2 separate regions of the Homo sapiens genome follow, and region 1 is linked to region 2. The links are contacts of gene promoters, found by promoter capture Hi-C in blood cells and fetal thymus (Javierre and others, 2016). All regions are on one chromosome and are shown on one strand. The core of a region is centred on a gene start or on the middle of the fragment in contact, and the rest is flanking DNA. Distances in the headings are between cores, read along the strand shown.

Evidence for each region. The method cuts DNA at HindIII sites, captures the fragments that hold promoters and counts their contacts. A CHiCAGO score of 5 or more calls a contact.
Region 1: a contact is called between a fragment that was not itself captured here and the fragment with the promoter of UBE2O in region 2, in 1 of 17 cell types (endothelial precursors). The highest score is 5.2, in endothelial precursors.

What each region holds. Positions count from the first base shown.
Region 1 is chr17:76,643,876-76,647,594 of GRCh38, reverse strand. No RefSeq gene overlaps it. Among named protein-coding and RNA genes, the nearest start is that of ST6GALNAC1, 2.0 kb to the right of the region's middle. The HindIII fragment of the contact is 2,395 bases long and covers 1,272-3,666 here.
Region 2 is chr17:76,451,749-76,455,600 of GRCh38, reverse strand. It overlaps UBE2O (ubiquitin conjugating enzyme E2 O), which reads left to right and starts at 2,449. Exons shown (of 18, transcript NM_022066.4): 1 at 2,449-2,876. The coding sequence starts at 2,460. It also overlaps a transcript of AANAT not described here. RefSeq lists silencers at 2,275-2,443, 2,238-2,777, 2,898-3,097. The HindIII fragment of the contact is 7,923 bases long and covers 1,515-3,852 here.

The DNA of each region.
Region 1 (3,719 bases), core at 1,220-3,719, 190 kb before region 2:
CAAGCCCCAGTGTAGTGGGGAATTCAGCATCTAGAGGTGCTACAATATATTATCTAAAATGTCTGGTTTTCAACAAAAAATTATGACACGCAAAAAAACTGTGACAAATACACAGGAAAAGAAGTCAGGCAATAAAAAGTGCTTTTGAAGGGACCTAAATATTGGACACATTGGAAAAAGACTCCAAAGCAGCTATTATGAATATGTTTTAAAAATCGAAGTAGACCAGGCATAGTGGTTCACGCCTATAATCTCAATGCTTCAGGAGTTCTAGGCAGGAGGATTGCTTAAGGCCAGGAGTTCAAGACCAGCCTGGGCAACACAGTGAAAACCTGTTTCTACAAAATATATATATATTTAAATAAATTAGCCTGTAGTCTTAACTACTAGGGAGGTTGGGGAGAAAGGATCACGTGAGGCCAGGAGTTCAAGGTTACAGTGACCTATCATCACGCCACTGCACTTCAGCCTGAGTGACAGAGCAAGACCTTGTCTCCAAAAAAAAAAGTTTTTAATGTAAACCATGTTTAAAGAATTGAAGATTAAAGAAAGGCATGATAATAATGACTCATGAAATAGAGAATGTTCACTAAAAAGATAGAACAAAATTATTAAGTAAATGAAAATTCTGAAGTTGAAAAATAAATAATCAAAATGAAAAATTCACTAGAGGGGCTCAATAGTAGATTTGAGTTGGCAGAAGGAAGAATCAGCCAACATGAAGACAGATTAATACAGATGAAGAACACTACGAAAAATAATAAGTAAAAATGAACAGAGCCTCAGAGAAATGTAGAATACTGTTAAGCACACCAACATACTCATCCTAGGAAAGAATGCTCAAGAGGCAGAGATAGAGAGAAAAAAATATTCAAACAAATAATACCTGAAAACTTCTGAAATTTGTTGAAAAACACTAATACATAGATCCCAGAAACTCCAAGTGAATAAATGCAGGAAGACCCACACAGACACATCATAGTCAAAATACTGAAAGCCAAAGATAGAGAAAAATCTTGAAAGAAGCAAATGAAAAACAATCTAAATTACTTTGTGCTCATGCACTTCTCTTTTGAACTGGTTATTATATCTGCCTGGTCCTCTCATGAGTAGAATCAAATCTTTAGCACATTTTTATGTCTTCTATCTATTTGAGTAATGATTTTACCTTTTACTGAAAATTATCTTTTAACAACTCTTATCTGCATGTAAGTTCTCACATGTCCCATCAGCTGATGTATACTAAAGTTCAAAGACTCAAGCTCAAAGCTTTAGTTTAAAAAGGAGAAAAAGTTTTTGCCATTGAGCTTAAGAGAATAAAATAAAATAAAACAATAAAAAGGAGAGAAAGGTAGATCTTACCAAACACAAAATTGTGACGATGTTTAAAAAATAATTGGCAGCTGGGCGTGGCGGCTCACATGAAGTGCTCCCAGCACTTTGGGAGGCTGAAGTGGGGTCGCTTGAGACCAGGAGATCAAGACCAGACTGCACGACATAGCAAGACCCCCCCATCTCTACAAAAAAAATTTGCCAGGTGTGGTGGCACCCACCTGTAATCCCAGCTACTTTGGAGGGAGGCTGCCGCAGGAGGATCTTGTGAGCTCAGGAATTCAAGGCTTCAGTGAACTATGATTGCACCACTGCACTCCAGCCTGGATGACAGAAAGAGGCCTTGTCTCAAAAAGCAAAAACAAAATAATTGGAAAGTCAATTTCTCCTAAAACACACACTTCTCTGGATCCCACATTCTGCCCAGGCACATGCTACAGCAGCAGTGGGCTGGAACCTGAGAACCAGGAAACTAGGACTCTGGATTATCCTGCCACACCAGTTGGCCACAAGGTCTTCAAGTTCAACCTGCCTCTAATGTGGCGAGAGGGACAGATTGTCCACAGTAGCTCAGCTTGCACCCAGGAGCTCAGCTGGATCTCCATGCCCTGCGGAAGGCAGCGAGCACTGACAGCCAGTGCCTTCTTCAGAACACAGGGCACGATGAAAGAGATACTCTATTTAGTCACACTAGTACTGTGGGTAAGAACATGCCTTTTCACTGTGCACTTATTTGCATAGCGTTGCAAGCAGGCACCAGGATACAGGAATATAATTGTACATGTCAAGTGCATAAAGGAACTCAGGATAAGGGGCCAGTTAGGACAAAGAGTTATGACTTGATACAGATCAATTCAGAAAATGTTTATAGAGTTAACATATGAGCATCTGTAGGTTAGGCACGGTGAGAGAGAAAGAGAGAGGTTGAGTCAGTACTAACAGAGATGTTTCTCCTTGCCACCATGACTTGAAACAGTGCTGTGAGTTGCAGTGTACAGTAGGGGATAAAGGAAACCATCAGTCGTCTGTATTACCCTCAGCTGCTCAGACGTATGTTCCTGCCTTTTTCGTCCTCCTTGAGGAAGGTGGTTTAATCATTTATCGGTGCGTGCCATGGGTGAAGGCCAAGAGCCTTGTGTACAGAACTGAAAACTGTACGTTAGGAGAAATGCCCACCGCCAGGTGTGAACAGTGAGCCCAGGCTCCAAAACCTCTCCCACAGTTCAACACCCTGGACAATATTTTTATAAAATTACTAACTCACAGTACTTTATGGAGGGCTGCTTCTCTGAATTTTTAAAGTTTTCTACAAATGGTCTTGATGTTTTTCCTCTGAGGTGTACTTTTTTTTCCCAAGAATTATGTGGGTTTTGTTTTGCATTGCTTTGATCAAGGTAGAGTTAATGATTTCTCGTAGGTGCTACTAAGCAGTGGATACGAATGCAATCGGCCAGGCACGGTGGCTCACACCTGTAATCCTAGCACTTTGGGAGGCCGAGGCAGGTGGATCATGAGGTCAGAAGATCGAGACCATCCTGGCCAGCATGGTGAAACCCCGTCTCCACTAAAAATACAAAAATTAGCCGGGTGTGGTGTTGGGTGCCTGTAGTCCCAGCTACTCAGGAGGCTGAGGCAGGAGAATCACTTGAGCCCGGGAGGCGGAGGTTGCAGTGAGCCAAGATTGCGCCACTGCACTCCAGGCTGGCAACGAGTGAGAATGTCTCAAAAAAAAAAAAGAAAGAAAAATGCAATCATGGCTGGGCATGGTGGCCGATGCCTGTAATCCCAGCACTTTGGGAGGCTGAGGTGGGAGGATCACTTAAGTCCAGGAGTTTGAGACCAGCCTGGGCAACATACTGAGACCCATCTCTATTTCTTAAAAAAAGAATGCAATCTCTAGGTCAGTTGGATCTGGACCCCAAGCCAGTGGCTCACCATGTGCTCTTGGGCTGGCAGCTTGTTCTTGGAGGCCATTTCCTCCTCTGTCAAATGGAGGTGATGACAGTACCCAGCCCCTAGAGTGGCTGTGAGGGTTCCATGAGTGCCTGTGAAGACTCCCCACTGCCCAGCTCAGAGTGAGCCCTCATACGTGCTGGTCATTGTTGTAATGGTCATGATTTCAGAAGAGAAACAGAGAAGGTTGAGCTAAAGTGTTGAACATGTGTGTTGGGTGCCTACCACAAACAAAGCCCTGTGCATGGTGGCCTCAAGGTGTCTTCATGATAATCCCAAAAGGAAGATAACTGCTTTTTTCCATTTATATGGCGGCAGATGGGTTAAGTAACCTGACCAAGATGAGACTGCATATAATGTGGTTATATTTCTCATAAAGCTTGACTTTCAGATATTGGCTTCAAAGACAAAAAAGGAAGGTAAACATGTTTGAA
Region 2 (3,852 bases), core at 1,200-3,699:
GAAAAATGTGGAAAAAATGATGTTGACTGAGAAAGGTTAGGGCCAGATCTTGTTTTCCTTAACAATCCATTTAAATCTGTCCTCTGAGAATGTATCTAAACCCTTTGAAACTTAGGTGACACATTAAATTAGAGTTAGTTTTTTTCTTTTGAGATAGAGTCTCACTCTGTCACCCAAGCTGGAGTGCAGTGGTGTGATCTAGGCTCACTGCAACCTCCAACCCCCAGGTTCAAGTGGTTCTCGTGTCTCAGCCTCCCAAGTAGCTGGAATTACAGGCGCCTGCCACCTTGCCCAGCTAATTTTGGATTTTTAGTAGACATGGGGTTTTGCCATGTTGGCCAGGCTAGTTTTGAACTCCTGACCTCAACTGATCCACCCACCTTGGCATCCCAAAGTGTTGGGATTTCAGGCGCAGTCAAAGTGTTGGGATTTCAGGCGTGAGCCACTGTGCCCGGCCTAGAGTTACTTTTTTTTGAGACGGAATCTCACTCTGTCGCCCAGGCTGGAGTGCAGCGGCGCGATCTAGGCTCACTACAACCTCCACTCCCCAGGTTCAAGTGATTCTCCTGCCTCAGCCTTCCGAGTAGCTGGGATTACAGGCGGCTGCCACCGCGCCCGGCTAATTTTTGTATTTTTAGTAGAGACAGGGTTTCACCATCTTGGCCAGGCTGGTCTTGAACTCCTGACCTCGGGTCTCCCACCCGCCTCGGTCTCCCAAAGTGCTGGGATTACAGGCAAGAGCCACCACATCCAGCCTTTTTTTTGTTTTTTGTTTTTTGAGACAGAGTCCTGCTCTGTTGCCAAGGCTGGAGTGTAGTGGCATGATCTCGGCTCACTGCAACTTCTGCCTCCCAGATTCAAGCAATTCTCCTGCCTCAGCCTCCCAAGTAGCTGGGACTACAGGTGCACACCACCACGCCCAGCTAATTTTTGTACTTTTAGTAGAGAAGGGATTTCGCCATGTTGGCCAGGGCGGTCTTGAACTCCTGACCTCAGGTGATCAGGTGATCCATCTGCTTCTGCCTCCCAAAGTGCTGGGATTACAGGCATGAGCCACCACGCCTGGCCCTAGAGTTACTTTTTATATTTTATTTATTTTTATTTATTTATTTTTTTGAGACAGAGTCTTGCTCTGTTGCCCAGGGTGGAGTGCAGTGGCGCGATCTGGGCTCACTGCAACCTCAGCCTCCCAGGTTCAAGCGATTTGCCTGCCTCAGCCTCCTGAGTAGCTGGGACTACAGCCATGTGCCACCACGCCCAGCTATTTTTTTTTTTTTTCCGTATTTTTAGTAGAGATGGGGTTTCGCCATGTTGGCCAGGATGGTCTCAATCTCTTGACCTCGTGATCCGCCCACCTCAGCCTCCCAAAGTACTGGGATGACAGGTGTGAGCTGCCGCGCCCGGCCTACTTTTTATATTTTAAAATGACAATATGGAGCAGACCATAACAGTTCTGCCAGTCTGGAATTTAGTCTAGGCAGGGAGTTTGGAAATAGTACAACAATGGTTAAGCTTATCGAAGGAGCTAAATGCCAGGCACTGTTCTACTTCACTTAATCCTCCAATTGCCCAATGAGATGAGTATTGCTATTATCATCCCTATTTCACAGATGAGCAAATTAAGATGAAAATAAGTTAATCAGTGTGCCTATTTTTATAGATTAGTAAGTGGCAGTGCCAAAAATTGGAATCCGTGGTCCCCACTCTTAGCTACCTTACTATACTACCTCTTGCCATTCATTCTTGGCTTCAGGGAGCTTTGAATTTATCTGCATGGATTTGTAGCCAAACCACTGGGACCACTGATCCTTTTGTTACCTTTCTCTGGGCCTCCTTCACCAGCTTCTGGGTCAACTTCTGAGGGGTCATGACGTTCGAACTGCTTGGAATTCCTGAATACAGTGCATTATACATATGCTCTACACGTATCTATTATAGCCTTACAAGTTGGAGTTGTTTGTTATCTATTTAATGTGTATTTGTTTTGTCTCCCCAACTAGACTGGAAACACCTAGAGGACAGGGACAGTATCTTTCTCTTTCTGCAATGCTCCCAGTGCCTGGGGGCTAGGCTAGGACGCCAAGGGAGCTCATTAAAAGTTGTTGACAGTCTCTCCACCATCCTGTGCCCCACCCCGACCACTCCCCTCTTCCTCGGTGGCCACTCCACTTCCTCCTCCCGGGTCCCCGCCCCTTCTCGCTCCCTTTAGTTGAATCCTCACTGGTCTCGCCCCTTCTTAGTGGATTCCATCCTGCCCCCGCCCCCCGCGGCATCTTCAGCGTCCCCTAGCGACGAGGCGGTGGCTCCTAGCAACTGCATCCCGGCTCCCTGACGACGGCGCCACGCAGGGACACGTCAGCGCGCTATGGCCCCGCCCCCGGCGCCCGCTGGTCCCGCCTCCCCGCGCCTCGTTCGCCGCCGCTGTCGCCGCCGCCGCCCGAGACTCGCGCAGAGCAGTTATGGCGGATCCCGCAGCCCCCACGCCCGCAGCTCCCGCTCCAGCCCAGGCCCCGGCTCCAGCCCCGGAGGCAGTCCCGGCCCCAGCCGCAGCCCCCGTCCCGGCGCCGGCGCCCGCCTCGGACTCGGCCTCCGGGCCGTCCTCGGACTCCGGCCCAGAAGCCGGCTCGCAGCGCCTGCTGTTTTCTCACGACCTGGTGTCGGGCCGTTACCGTGGCTCCGTGCACTTCGGGCTGGTGCGCCTCATCCACGGCGAGGACTCGGACTCGGAGGGCGAGGAGGAGGGCCGCGGGAGCTCGGGGTGCTCCGAGGCCGGGGGCGCGGGCCACGAGGAGGGCCGGGCCAGCCCCCTGCGCCGCGGCTACGTGCGCGTCCAGTGGTACCCGGAGGGCGTCAAGCAGCATGTGAAGGAGACCAAGGTGCGGCGGGCGGGGGCTGGGCGGCGCGGGCGGCAGGGGGTCGGCGGCCGGGCCGAGGCCAGGGAAGGACGGCGTGCAGGGCCCTGCCCGGAGCGGTGCCACTGCAGTGGCCGACGCGGGAGGACAGCCCCAGTGGAGGGTACACTCCATGCAAAGTCATTGCAGCAGCTCTGGGCGCACACGCCAGCCAGGCACTGCTGGCCCGGGACCGGGCGGGCCCTGGGCTTCCCGACTTGAGGGGACTTCTAAGACATGTTATGCTGTGGTGTCGGCCTCGAGATTTAGAGACGTGGACCGACTCCCGTGGGGACTCAGGTTCTGGGGCGCGTTCGGCGTTACACCAGTGCGGCGTTTTGCTGACCCCCAAGGAGCTCGGTACTGCATTGTGCATCCAGAAATGAAGGCCGTGCCGGGTCCGTGCAGGGAGGGGTTGTGGGCATTCCAAAACAAAGATAGAGGTGAAAATCCCAGCCGAACCCAAGAAGTTCACTAGCTTACAGGCTGCATTATGGTGAAGCCACCCAGCCTCTTTTTGTTTTACCCTGCTGCCTCCTTTTAATTGCTGCAGGGAACTTTGTGAGTAAAATCATTAGCAATCAGAGCCCCGGTATGAATAGTACTTGGGGGGGAGGATTCTGACAGCTGCGACCGGGATTGATGACTCCTAAGTGCATATGGACTCCTTGAAAAAAATAATCCAGAACCCTGGGTAGAGGGGAGTCACCAATTTGGAAACCCGAAGGTTTTTTCTTGACCTGAAGCTGTTAAGCAGACATCTGACTCCCGTATGGTTTTTGGGGTGATGCTAGTGAGTATAGCAGTTTTACAAAACAAAGAGGCTTGTCATCATAAACCCGAAACCTTGAACCCGGGTTGGTTTGGTGGCTTGTTTTCCAGAATGTGAATTCCTATCAGTAATTGACACACACACACACACACACACACCCCCCTGTATCTCACACCCCTTCTTTCTCTC